Linked DNA regions of Homo sapiens: region 1 is linked to region 2. The links are contacts of gene promoters, found by promoter capture Hi-C in blood cells and fetal thymus (Javierre and others, 2016). All regions are on one chromosome and are shown on one strand. The core of a region is centred on a gene start or on the middle of the fragment in contact, and the rest is flanking DNA. Distances in the headings are between cores, read along the strand shown.

The links. Contacts are between HindIII fragments. The CHiCAGO score rates a contact against its expected background, and 5 or more counts as called.
Region 1: a fragment that was not itself captured here is called in contact with the fragment with the promoter of C10orf67 in region 2 in 1 of 17 cell types (neutrophils); the score reaches 7.0 in neutrophils.

The regions. Positions count from the first base shown.
Region 1 is chr10:24,201,502-24,208,173 of GRCh38, forward strand. It overlaps a transcript of KIAA1217 not described here. Among named protein-coding and RNA genes, the nearest start is that of KIAA1217, 4.3 kb to the right of the region's middle. RefSeq lists an enhancer at 741-1,506. The HindIII fragment of the contact is 5,088 bases long and covers 36-5,123 here.
Region 2 is chr10:23,341,787-23,349,207 of GRCh38, forward strand. It overlaps C10orf67 (chromosome 10 open reading frame 67), which reads right to left and starts at 3,011. Exons shown (of 16, transcript NM_001371909.1): 1 at 2,783-3,011. The coding sequence starts at 2,988. It overlaps C10orf67-AS1 (C10orf67 antisense RNA 1), which reads left to right and starts at 2,171. Exons shown (of 2, transcript NR_155752.1): 1 at 2,171-2,304; 2 at 2,638-3,375. RefSeq lists a silencer at 4,134-4,428. The HindIII fragment of the contact is 9,174 bases long and covers 1-7,421 here.

The DNA of each region.
Region 1 (6,672 bases), core at 1,330-3,829, 860 kb after region 2:
AGAAACACAAAATGCACTTCGGCTTAGGGCAGAGAAGCTTAGCCATCAATACTTTGTAAATCCTGGAGGGCTTCCTCTACCTCCTGCATGCCAGCACCCCCTCTACCCACTTGGCTCCAGAAATTAGTCCTTCTGTATTAAAACTGTTTTTCCATCTGCAAGGAACAGAAGTCCCCACCCTGCCCTACCCCGCCTCTGCTTCCGCCCCACCTTCAATTCTGTGGACTGAGGTGGGGAGAGAAAAATAAAATCACTGTAAAAATACTTAACTTCTGAAGCACGTGACTGGCTTTCAAGAATTCTATAAACTCGAGGGTGAGGCACTTGAAGAAGTTGGAGGCATGGCTCAGGGCAAAGCAGGGGCTACAGTGAGCCCTTTGAGTCTCTGGACACCCCTCTCGAGCGCCCCCAACCTCCTGATCACCCCTGATCCTCCTATCCAGCACCCCATTCCCAATTCTTCCTGGTGTTCTGAGACCCCCGAGGGAGTGCAGGCTGCACGCAGGCAGGCGGCCCAGCCCCGGGTGCTGGGTGACCCCCTCAGCTCCAGGTGTGGCTGCAGGACTGTCAGCCTCCCGGGGGTGACATGGAAAGGTGAATGTATTTGCACTGCGCCTTTCATTCTGTAACATCTGTGTCTCTGTTTCTCTTAAAGCCTATGGCCATCACTCAACCGGAGGCTGAGAACTGATGAAAAAGTGGAACAAAAACAAAATAAAACTAGCTGCGTTGTTGAAACAAAGTCAATTTCAGTGTTTATTTGGCAGAGAAGCCAGTAGAGGTGATCAAAGTGATCAGGGCAATTCACTTGTTTCGCTGGCCCTGGGAGGGAAGGTGAGGAGCTCTGAATTCCAAAGGTAGGGGGAGAGGAGAGCAAAGCTCAGGGGAGAGAGCGGTCAGGAAACTCCCTGGGCACAGGCAATCCCTGCCAGGACTCCAAGACACCAGTCACAGGCTTCTCCTTCTCCTGCATCAGGGTGACCTGCAGGGCCCTGTTCTCGGAGCCTCCACCCTCCACCCTGGGCTGCACCACGGCCCCCAAGCCTTCATGAGCACCGTTGCCCAAAGGCTGTGCTCTGGTTGCACCCTTGCTCCCAAGCTCCCCTCACAGGCGCTTTCCCCTATCCTAGCAGCTCCACGTCTCCTCTGCTCTGAGGGTGGTTTCCATCTTTGGCCTCATCCTCCTGGAAGCCCTGCCCCCCAGGGAGGTCCCTGGCATCACAGTCTTAGCTTACAGACTAGAGGTCTCAGTGACTAGAGCAGGCGCCCAGCTGCAGGGAGACTTTGATAAATATCTATGGCCGAACTGCATGATGCCTTAGGGCTCTTACAGCAATGCCCCCCAAATAATACCAGACCCAATTCTATAGTTGAAAGAAGAGGAATTTTAGAAAATAGGTATACCGGGCCAGGGGCAGTGGCTCATGACAGTAATCTCAACACTTTGTGAGGCCAGGGCTGGAGGATTGTTTGAGCCCAGGAGTTCAAGACCAGCCTGAGCAACATAGTGAGACCTAATGTCTACAAAAAAATATAAAATTAGCCAGGCATGGTGGAGTGTGCCTGTAGTCCCAGCTACTTGGGAGGCTGAGGGTAGAGGATTGATTGAGCCCAAGAAGTTGAAGCAGTGAGCTGTGATCATACCACTGCAATCTAGCCTGGGTGGTGGAGTAAAAACTTGTCAAAAAAAAAAAAAAGAAAGAAGAAGAAGAGAGATACCTCCCCTTTTATTCTTCATTTCCATCTAGCAAAATAATAAAAATAATATTGATGATTGAGGGGTCGCCTTGGACAATTGCCTTGGACTTCAGTAGTGAAAAAAGAGGATAAAAGATCCTAAGGTATTCATCAAGTATAACAGAGCAAAGGCTGAACAGGACCCTGGAGACGAGAAAGATGGGAGAGATGAGAGCCACACGTTCGAGAATGCTCCAGGAGTCAGTTTGTTCAGCAGCAAAGTTGGGGGATGTTGGTGGGGGAAACAGGGAGAAGTGTACTCCATGATCCTAGTTTTGGCAACTTGATTGGTTCCCCTTCCTTCTTGCTCCCCCTACCCCCCAACCCCCACCTCCACAGGTCACTGCAGCTTTGAGAAATGGCAGAGGAGAAGCTCAAGGGCAGAAAATAAGCCAGGAGAGTCTCTTTCCCCCAAATACTCTATTGAAAGGGTTGATAATGAGGCACTGTGGGTAAAGCAAGGTAGCAACCCAGGTGCTTGTATCTGTAGAAGCTCTCATATTCTCGTGGATTCCACCCTGGCCCTTCAGGAACTCTGGGAAATATGCCATGGTTTTGCTCCCTCTGGGATAAAAGGGGTGAGCAGATACATGTTACACTTTTCACTTATAAGTTGCCACCTGGAATCCAGACTTTGTCTGCAGTGACCAGAGGGCAGAGCTGAGCGGGGCTTTCAAGACGGTATGCTGCACAGATGCCAGCTCTGGCCACAGTGCTGTGCACACGGGGTCTTTGCTGCCCAGCATCTATCTTCCAACTTAAAATAGATAAAAGAAACCATAATAAAAACCAACATCAATGGGTTCTCTTAAAAAGAAAGCAAATATGCTTAAAGTATTAACACATTGGATCTATGTGTAGTTTCACATCATATGACCACATGAGGAATTTGTGTGGAGTAGCAGGAGAGTTCCAAGACATTTCATAGGGAGATTTGAGTGTTGGTGGGTGGCGAGGGGCTCCTGGGCACCTCACTTATTGTCTGGCAGGATCTCCTTGGAGCCACTGGAATTTTAAGGACTTTAAGTAAGGGAAGATTGGTTACCCTCTGGAGAGAATGCTGGAGGTTACCTGGTGAAATTGTTGCTCTTAACGCAGAAGGGAAAATTCTGTTTTGATCTATGAGTCATATAGAAATGTATTATACTATGGAATCTGCGAAATTGTTTGTTAGTGGGGCTTGTAATACGGTCCGTGTGAGGCTCACACCTTTGCTCTAATTATTGTTTAAGATTAATTATTTTTTAATTATTGTTTCAGATTCTTTTATAGGGTCTTTGTTGGGAAACTCAAACAGTATCATTATGTTCCCCTCACATTTGGAAACCTAAGGCGCCCAGAGGGCTTATCTTGGGATCACACATAGGTGGCCATCTGTGCTGGTTTGCCAGGGACAGTCGTGGTGTCTTATTGTCCAGTTGTAATTATTAATAGTGTCTACTTTCCCTCTCACAAATGCTGGTTTATACTAAGTATAAGGTCACCCTAACCACCTGACACATTGCTGTCAAAACTAGGATTGGAGAGCCCACATTTCACATGCGCCAGATCATCCATTTAAGCAAATGTTATCCCAGTTGTTAAAAATCCTTTATTTCTGACTTACAGGGCCTCATACCATAGCAGCCTGTCTTTTAGAAACAGTTAATGTGGAACACATCAAACACGAGGCCTCTGGTTGAAACACTTTTGTTGACTTCTTTGTTTTTCACTTTGTTTTAATTGACTCTCACAGTTATGAATGCCTTTGAAAAGTACATTTTAAGGACTTCAGCAAGCATTAATTATTTCTTTTGTGTCCTGATGTCAAGTCATTTTCAACTATCTGGTTCTTAATAGGATTTAAAGTGAAAAAATATTAAATATGTATCAGGGCAATTCCACTTACTCTTGGTTCTTGCAATGATTTCTCTGTTGAAAAACTTACATAGGCCAGGCACAGTGGCTCACGCCTGTAATCCCAGCGTGATTACTTTGGGAAGCCAAGGTGGGCGAATTACCTGCGGTCAGGAGTTCGAGACCAGCCTGGCCAATGTGGTGAAACCCCGTCTCTACTAAAAATACAAAAAAAAAAAAAAAAAAAAAAAAAAGCCAGGCGTGGTGGCACATGCCTGTAATCCCAGCTACTCAGGATGCTGAAGCGGGACAATTGCTTGAACCCTCGAGGCAGAGGTTGCAGTGAGCCGAGATCGCGCCATTGCACTCCAGCCTGGGCGACAAGAGCAAAACTCCGTCTCAAAAAAAAGGAAAAAATGCCGGGCGCGGTGGCTCATGCTTGTAGTCCCAGCACTTTGGGAGCCCGAGGCAGGCAGATCACAAAGTCAGGAGATCGAGACCATTCTGACTAACACGGTGAAACCCCATCTCTACTAAAAATACAAAAAGTTAGCTGGGCGTGGTGGCATGTGCCTGTAGTCCCAGCTACTTGGGAGGCTGAGGCAGGAGAATCACCTGAACCCAGAAGGTGGAGGTTGCAGTGAGCCGAGATCATGCCACTGCACTCCAGCCTGGGTGACAGAGCAAGATGCTGTCTCAAAAAAAAAAAGGAAAGAAGGAAAAAAGGAAAAATTTACATGAAGGAAGTTGACATGCTTTCCACAACCCTATAATTGGCCTGCTGAGAAATCATATGCAATTGTTTACGATTTTTGTGATTAATTCTCTTTATGGTGAATGCCATTTACGTTGCGTTATCAACACCAATAATGGTCCAGTTCTGTAACGGGTTAGCTATGACTGCAAAATCACCATTTGTCTTTACAGCACTCTTTTATCTCGTCACTTGTCTTTCCTTTTAAATGACATTTGTTTTATGTGGTAGCTCATTTTGAGTCATGAATTGCAACATATGGAACCACTAACCAAGAAATAGTCTTGCACCTTTCCCTGTTAACAGAAACGGAGTTGAAAACTTAGCCTCCTGGTATTATTATTATTCTAGTTCTTTATATGACTGGAGGAAAATCAGATTTCAAGTTCTTCCCGCTTTCCTTATGCCTTTCACAGCAAATTTCAAAGTATAGCAGTAGGCAGATTGCAATGTAATAGCAATTTTTAAGCCCAGAAATTAAATTAAACCAGAAAGAAATACACCTACTTCTAGTTCAAATAGTGTTTCTTCCAGAAAGAAGAACATCTCCACAGTAACAGCAGTGACAATAAGAGTATTTTCATGAAGATCGGAGTTACCAGGTTTATATAGATTGCAGAATACAGCTACTGTTTTCCAGAGACACTGACAATCAGTGCTAAATTGTTAGGAAGGTCTCTGTGCTTTGGAGAAAGATATGGAATAGTCGGTGCAAGGGCAAATAGAGTGCCTTCTCAAATTGTTTTCAGTTCCTCTTCTTAAGGAGGAACAAAAGGCCAGTAAGTAATCCAATAGAAGCTTTTCCCTATAGAATGGTCAGAAAGTTTGATCATTCAAAAGAACATTATTTTACCATAAATACATGTCTAGGTTTCATGATCCTTAATGATTCATGTTAATTCTCTTCCCCCAATGCCTTTTTCTGTTGTGCATATCACAGAGTTTTGTTTCCTGGAATATCAGCAGAGAGGGCAGTGGGCTTGGCCCGTATGGGGGAGGGGAGGGTCCTAGCAGCTGGAAAGCAAGGTCGGCTGACCAAGGGGGTTCCTTGGGCTGCCTGGAAAATGGTAGTTCAGACCTGGTGGGAGACATTTCCCTATTTTTGTCCATCTAGGGGTCAACAGAGGCCTGAAAGACTGCTCTGACACCTTCCAAACAGCCCCCAGGAAATCTTAATCAGCATCTGCCAATGGATCTTTTCTGCCTGGGTTGAGCTAGCCAGGAGGGCCCTGGGGCAGGGTGCTGTTTGTGGCTGCCAACGGCTGTGGCAGCCCTCTGCTGCCTCCTTCATCCTGGGGTTTTTGCCTTTGTGCTACACCAAATGACAGGTAGGAGCTGTTAAGCACGGGCTCTCTGGACACCAGAGCAAGGGGATTGGGGTCACAACCAAAGGCTGCGGGACATCTGATTTGGGCTGCTGCATCTCCTGCTACAGTGTTTCTCTCTCTCTCTCTCACACACACACACACACACACACACACACACACATACTTTTCTCCCACCCTCCTCCCCACTCTTCCTAGCATTAATACTTTAAAGACAAATACACAACAGTATACAAGAATCAGGATGATCTGGACCTGAAAGGCTGAACACAGCAGGGCCCTCCTTCATGAACATTTTGCACCTAAGGAAATAATAAGGTTAAAACTAGATTCATCTGGCCTTTGCCCAGGGGCCACCAGGACAGAAACTGTGTAAGATTAGTTCCTCCTTAAAGCAAGATTGCCAGGTAATTCTGTTGCAAAGTCATAGAGACCTTAAGTTATCTGCCCTGCAAATCCCACTGCCTCTATTCAGGCTGCCGAGGCACTGCTTTAATTTTTTGAAAGATTCACCGCGTCTTCTTGGATTTCAAGAAAAATCCCGTTAAGAATTGAGGGGCTCTCTTCTTCCCCTCCTGACGTGAGTGTAACTCACTTCCTGGTATGTCTCCTTTCCTTTTGGCCTACATCCTTTGTCTGTTAGGTGCTTCCACATCCTTATGTCTTAAATGGCCAAAATACGTCACCCCCACTGCCAAAACACACAGGTCACTCGAGGTCACAATCTGGAACATAGGCTGGCCATTGTTCAGCACACATTCTTGATCTAAATCAATCTCAAACCTTGCTGGAATGCCCTGTAAACTGGGGCAAAGTATGGTCACCAGACTAACCATTGTCCTTTTTTACCCCTCCTGTGACGGGGCTACTACAGGTTACAAAATCGCGCTCTTCCTCCTAGCTACTGTGTTACTCTGAGATATCTGACATCGCAGAGCTAATGTTGCCTAAATTATTTTCCCATCCTCTTTTTTTTTTTTTTTTCGGACATCATGCCTCCTATTTTCACTCTCTGGGAAC
Region 2 (7,421 bases), core at 1,761-4,260:
GATAGATCCTTAGGGCTCCCCCCTCAAGCCTGCAAGTCTTCACCCCAGTGTCATTTTCTCAGTGAAGCCTTCCCTGATCACCATTTCTAAAATCTGCAGTCCAGGCCGGGTATGGTGGCTCATGCCTGTAATCCCAGTACTTTGGGAGGCCGAGGCTGGAGGACTGCTTGAGCCCAGGAGTTTGAGACCAGCCTGGGCAACACAGCAAGACCCTGTATTAAAAATAAATTAGCCAGGCAGGCTGGGGTGTGCTTGTCGTCTCAGCTACTCAGGAGGCTGAGGTGGAGGGATCGCTTGACTCCAGGAGTTCAAGGCTGCACTGAGCCATGATTGTGCCACTACACTCCAGCCTGGGTGACAGAGTGAGACCCTGACTCTAAAAAACAAAACAAAACAAAACAAAAATTAAATCACAGCTCCCTCCCCACTTGCCACACACACACACACACACACACTCTCACACACTTACTCACTTTCCTCTTCTCCCTCCCCATGTTCGGTTTCTTCCTTATCACTAACCACTATCTAACTTATTACATAGTTTACTTGTTTATCTAGTTCATCATCAATTCCTGACTAGGATGCAAACTCCACAAAGGCCGGGCTTTCGTCTGCTTTGTGGACCACGTTCAGCACCTGAGCCTCTCTCATTCACACCCAGGCACCAGCTCAGTCGCCCTAGTACTTTGGGTGAAGAGGAAGGAATATGGGCATCAGTGGTTCTTTTGTTCAGCCAAAGAGCACCCGGCACCATCGGTCTGCTCTTGAGCCTGGCAAGTGCATTTTTTTTTGGGAGCTACCCCACCATGGAATGCCAAGGAGTCCAGGGCAGGACACCATTCCTATCAGCAAACACTAGAACAGGGTAGACGCTGTGTGCCTCTGGTGTTTATCACGTGCTGCCTCTAATAAATGCTATTCACAACCACCACTAGACCAGGTCCCGTGCACCCTGACCCATTTTAACAAACGTACCCATTGAATACAGTGAAGCTGGGGAAGCCCAGCCCAGGAGCATTGCCTCACTGGGTCAGTCCCACTGCTGGGCTAGGACACCTGTGGTCCCTTCTTCTCACCCTGGAGCTGTGTCTGTGTGAGGGGCTTGCCCCTAAGCCAGCCCACCTGGCACCATGAGGCCCCTGCCTTATACAACGGTAAGTTCTCCCATAGCAGCTAAGCTAATTCTGGCTACCTACTGATTTGAAAAGGTTTTTAGAAAGAAATTTGCATTTTCCCAGAAACATCAGCTCTACATTATCCAAATAAACAACAAAGCTAGAACACAGGGGGCAAAGGATTATGAAAGGGACGGGTTTTAAACAAGGATCAAGGAATAGCAAATAATGACATCGGCAAACACTTCTATGATTCTGCTATGGTCTGAGTGTGTCTCCTGAAAATTCATGTTGAAATCCTAACCCCCAAGATGACGATATTAGCAGGTGTGGACTTTGGAGGTGACTAGGTCATGAAAGTGGAGCCCTATAAATGGGATTAGTGCCCTTCTAAAAGCAGGGTGGGAGCGGGTGTGGGGGACGTGGGGGAAAACTCCCTTGCCCGTTGCACCATGTGGAGACACAGCCAGGAGGTACTGTCTGTGCAGAAGGGACCCTCATCAGACCTGGAATCTGCCAGTGGGCTTCCCAGCCTCCAGAACTGGGAGAAACAAATTCCTGTTGCTTATAAGCCACCCAGCCTATGTTGTTTTGTTACAGCAGCCCGAGGGGACTAAGACGGGTACTGTGTCCTAGATTAGCTCATTTAATATTCACTATGATCTATGAAGCAGGCACTACTCTTCATCATTCATGAACGATTATTTCCCGCTGAGAAAACTGAGGCACAGAGCAGTCAGTCGCCTAACTCACGGCCCCTGTGAGAGGGTCGCCAAGATTCTGGAATCCGGGCAGTCTGGCTCCAGAGTCCGTGCTCTTAGTGTCCAGCTATACACTTGAAGAAGTGAAAACTGCAGCTCTTTTCGGACAGTGATCCCCTCGAAAAACAAACAAAAAACTGAAGCCCAGCGGCTGGAGCAAGGGGCCTGGAAAGGCGTTGAGCGAGGGCCGGGGCGCGAGGGCTCCGGGGCGGGCCGGCGGGGACTGCCTCTCCCGCTGGTCACCTGGGGTTGAACTGGAATTGTTCAATAGAGGCCTCGAGGCCCTCCATGATCTTCCGGCCCTCCTCTGTCTCAGGCGAGTCGCCCCAGTTCGCCATTGCAGCCCCGGACGTGCGCCTCCCGCGGAGCCGCTCGCTCTCCTGAGTCGGAGTCGGGAACCCGGCGTCCGTTGCCATGGCGACTCCCAGGTAACCGGCGAAGCGCGGGAATCCGTGGGCGGGGGCCGGGGAGGGCCGCGAGTGGAGGGGGGTGGGGAACGGGGTGGGGAGGGGAAGGGGGAAGGAGATGGGGAGGAGGGGGATAGGGAGAAGGTTGGGGATGGGGGGGAAGGGGAGAGGGAAAGGAAGTAGAGGAGGTGTGGAGGGAAGGAAGAGGGGGAAGGAGTGGGGGAAGGGGGAAGAGATGGAAAGGAGGATGGGGAGGGAGCACGCGCGGGAGGAGGGGAGTGGAGAGGGGGAGGAGGAGGCGGGGCGGGCTCCCAAGCCACCCCGCTGCGCTTTCACTGTCCCGCCTGCCTCAAGGCTTCCCCACAAGACTCCCACAGCCTGGAGGCTGCTGCGATACCCCAGAGGAAAGCTGCACCCCCGTAAATAACCCTTCAGCCTCCCGCCGTGCCCCTGGACCCTGCTCGCTTCCTCCTCTACCCAGGCGCGGAGCTCAGCCTACCTCGTGGACCCGCGCATTTGCGGGGGCTTGAATTCCCGAGCTTCTCGCTTCCTACGCGCGCAGCAGACCCGCAGCTCGGTGGCCTTGGCTTTCATGGCCTCCCAGCGTGTGCCAAAGGTCCCCCTCAAGGAGGAGGAAAAGCAGTGAACCCATCTAATAACTATGCTCATGACATAATGAGCCCTGCGATCCCGGACCAAGGCCATCATAAGAGGAGAGCAGGCTGCCTAATAAGCTGTCTCCACCTGCCACAAACGTAGGCGTTCCTGGACAAAATATTTCCTTGCAGAGATTAAACAGATTTCTATTTAATGAGGTCAGAATGTGAGGCGTTAAGTCTTAAACTATACCATCTAGTGTGGAATTCAATTTTACCAGGTTTCTACAATAATAAGAGTTAATAGTGAAACTGTTGTCATCCTTAGTTTTAAATTATGTATCACTCATTGTCAACTAATAGGAGACACCTATTCTAATATCAGTATGTCATTGTTTTTCTGTAAACGACTGGCTAAATTTATTTTTAAAATGTCATTGTCTGGTTTAGAACTGTCTATACTACATCTGCATTTCAATATATTATCTACAGAAAAATAAGTTTTTTCTCCTCTCTCTTATTATTATTATTATTATTTTTTGGAGCCGGAGTCTCGCTCTGTCGCCCAGGCTGGGGTGCAGTGGCGCGATCTGGGCTCACTGCAACCTCCGCCTCCCGGGTTCAAGCAATTCTCCTGCTTCAGCCTCCCGAGCAGCTGGGACTACAGGCACACAGCACCAAGCCAGGCTAATTTTTTGTATTTTTAGTAGAGACGGGGTTTCACCGCGTTGTGCAGGCTAGTCTAACTCCTGAGCTCAGGCAATCTGCCCCCCTCGGCCTCCCAAAGTGCTAGATAACAGGCGTGAGCCACAGAGCCCGGCCTCTTCTCTGTCTTGTAACAGTAAGTGAAAATAACTTAGCTGGATTTAGAAGCTCAAAACAGGAAAAGAAAAGCACTGTAGCATTATCACTACTATTATGTTTAAAGACAAAGATTAAAAGCCCCAAATGCCAATAAAACATCATAACCAATGCCAAAATCATCTTCTGTGAAGGCTTATTTTTTGGGGGGGAGATGAAGAGAGAAGAGAAAAAGAGTTACTTTTACTCTTTGGAGGTTTTTAATTACAAACTCTAACTTCAGACTTTATTTGGGGAATTTTTATTATATAATCAAAAGGTATTTTAAAAGAAAGAAATTTATATATCTACAATAACTTTTCTTTTTCCTAAGTGATATTTTACCACAATGTATATACATGTTTTAAAATAAAGATTAAAATTTTAAGTTAAAATTTCAAAACCTATCTGTTTAGAGCTGGGCCAAGACAGTGTAAAGAATGTGACAAGCTGTTGGCTATTTTCCTAGTGCAATTATAAATGAATCGTTTGAAACTGAGGAGAGAGATCGCACAGAAGATTTCATGAGTCATTGGTCAGCTCTGTACAGCATTTGTTGACTGATATAGTCTGCATAGTTACGCCATCCCACAAAAACATGCATTGAACAGAACATCTTTGTTTGAAACCTTGCTATAGCATATCAAGGAGTTTCAGATTTCAGTGTCTAAGAGACCACGCTATGATGATGATTGTTTTTGAAACCGTTAACTACATAATACTTCTCTTCTTGTCAGTTACCTGTATTTTATCTCACAGGTGTTCCGGCTTATAAAATTGTTTATTTCAGATCAGATTCTCACCTGTAGTAACTGGCGTTGATGTGGTCAAAACATTTGTCATATTAAATCCAGGCCTCTTTTATCACATGCTAAATTCATTGATGGCTTTAGTGGAAAGCTCATGAACTCTGCAGTAAATATTAAATATATACAGGCTTTGAAACTTACTCGATTTAGAATTTTGGGCAAGTAAGTTAACATTTCAGAGCCTCTATTTTCTCACAAGTAAAAACTGGATAATGAATGTTTCTCAAAGTTGGGGTAATCTATAAAGCAGAAAAACACGCAGCACATGCATGAGGCAACTGCAAGAGAAATACCAACTAGGCCTTTGAAGGACTCTATTCCTTCTTCCTAAACCACTACTAGGGAAAACATTGTTTAAAGATGTCAGTGTTTTGGCTGGATTCGGTGGCTCATGCCTGTAATCCCAACACTTTGGGAGGCGGAGGCAGGCAGATCACTTGAGGTCAGAAGTTTAAGACCAGCCTGGCTAACATGGTGAAACCCTGTCTCTACTAAAAATACAAAAATTACCTGTGCATGGTAATGCACGCCTGTAATCCCAGCTACTTGGGAGACTGAGGCATGAGAATCACCTGATCCCGGGAGGCAGAGGTTGCAGTGAGCCGAGACTGCACCACTGCACTCCAGCCTGGGCGACAGAGTGAGACCCTGTCTCAAAATAAATAAATAAATAAAGATTTCAATTTTAAAAAATTGAACATTTCATAAGTTAACATTGTTTTTACTTGTTCAGTTAATAGGACTTCAGGCACAATTTTAAAATTTGAAGTGCTTCTCTGACATACCACAGGTATAAATAGAATATGTATTTATATAAAAATATCGCCTACCAGTTATTAAAAGTGATAACATCTCAGATTAACTAGCATGAGAATTTGATTAAGAGTCAAGTGCTGACTCTAAACATAGTAATTTATGTATTCCAGTTGGGTAGTATCAGTTCTATAGTCTAATAAGAGCCAAGAGGTTTCAGTTTAGGTTTGTAATTTAAATTCTTTCTAGAGCGTCATCACATGCGAAGTGCTTATTTTTCTTTTATCACCAGCTATAATATATGATTATGTGGTGGAGGCTCTGTTATGTAAACTTGTTTTATGTCATGCTTCATCCACAACCAAAGTTCTTAAATAAAGTCTTTGGAAGGACATAGTAAGGCTCTTAGCCAGGGCAATATAATGCTACTAAATCCTTTATGGCAAAACTCCTGAGACTAGATCATTTTAATGTCTTAAATTTTGCTGCTGTGAGACAGCATATCCACTCTGTGAAAGTCTATCAATAAGCATTTGTCAGCCGACTAAAGCTGAAAACCAAGATGACAAGCCCAGTAGGGGGTTTGGGGCAGGCGCAACTGTGGATGTGGAATTTGGATCCTTGCCGCCAAATGTCCTTGAGCACTGGAGTAAAGGATTTCCTCTATTTGGAGCTAAGTTTAGATCATCACTGTTTAAAAGAGAGCAGGCCCGCGTGTGGCTCACGCCTGTAATCCCAGCACTTTGGAAGGCCAAGGTGGGCGGAGCCCAGAAGCTAGAGGCCAGCTTGGGCAACATTGAGACTCTGTCTCTACAAAAAATTAAAAAGAGAGAAAGAAATAGTAGTGAACGTGAAGAAAATGGCAGGGGTGGGTTGGGCCTGTAATCCCAGCACTTTGGGAAGCCAAGGTGAGGATTGCTTGAGCTCAGGAGTTCAAGACTAGACTGGGCAACATAGGGAGACCCCATCTCTGCCAAAAAAAAAAAAAAAATTTTTTTTTCAAATTAGCCAAGAACCCAGAGTCCCAGCTACCCAAGAGGGTGCAGCAGGGGGATCACGTGAGCTTGGGAAGTCAAGGATAGAGTGAGCTGTGTTCGTGCCATCATATTGTAGCCTAGATGACAGAGCAAGAGTCCATCTCAAATAAATAAATAAATACATAAATAAATGGTAGGGCTTAGCTGTCTGCAGAAGTGAGCCCACCTGAGAGAGAATTTGTAAACTTACTGCTGAGGGAAGTTTGGGCGATCTCCAGTCTGTTCAAATGACCAGAGTGGATCCTAGTGCCTAGAACATAACCTAGGAAAACTGTCACCCACATATTGGAATTTAGGGTGAGGCGGTTCAGGACAAGTCAAAGTCTGGAGAGTAATACAAGGGCAGTCACCATATTTCATGCCGTCTAAGATTGCATCCTTTAGGATGTGTCTTTATTTTCTGTGCCACTTAGAAAAAAACACTTGCCAACTATGATTATACCTTGACACACCATGGGCTATATGATACACTACAATTTCAAGGATATACCAAAATGATACACCAAAATTTTATGTTAGAAATGTGAAAAACTGTCCAGGCACAGTGGCTCACACTGTAATCCCAGCACTTTGGGAGGCCCAGGTGGGCAGATTACCTGAGGCCAGGAGTTTGAGACCAGCCTGGCCAACATAGCAAAACCCCATCTCTACTAAAAATACAAAAATTATCCAGGTGTGGTGGCATGCACCTGTTATCCCAGCTACTTGGGATGCTGAAGCAGGAGAATCACTTGAACCTGGGAGGCAGAGGTTGCAGTGAGCTGAGATTGCACCACTGCACTCCAGCCTGGGCGACAGAGACTCTGTAGGCAACCCCCCCTCCCCCGTCAAAAAAAAGTGAAAAACTGTATATCTTAGAATCAGTGAATAAGGTAGTTAATAAGAATTTATCAGGCAGAGATCCTTCCTGGGGCCCCATTTAATCAGACCCTAGAAGGATCTACTCTCTTGAGAAGCAGGACATTCGTGAGGTTTTTCCACAATAACTTGGATAAAGTGCCCGTAGGACCATCTGGTTCTCTCTGTTCTTTTTCTAGTGTCACAGGGCAACATGCAAATAACTAATTCATGTTCTTGGGTACATAGATGCCAAGAAAGTCTTG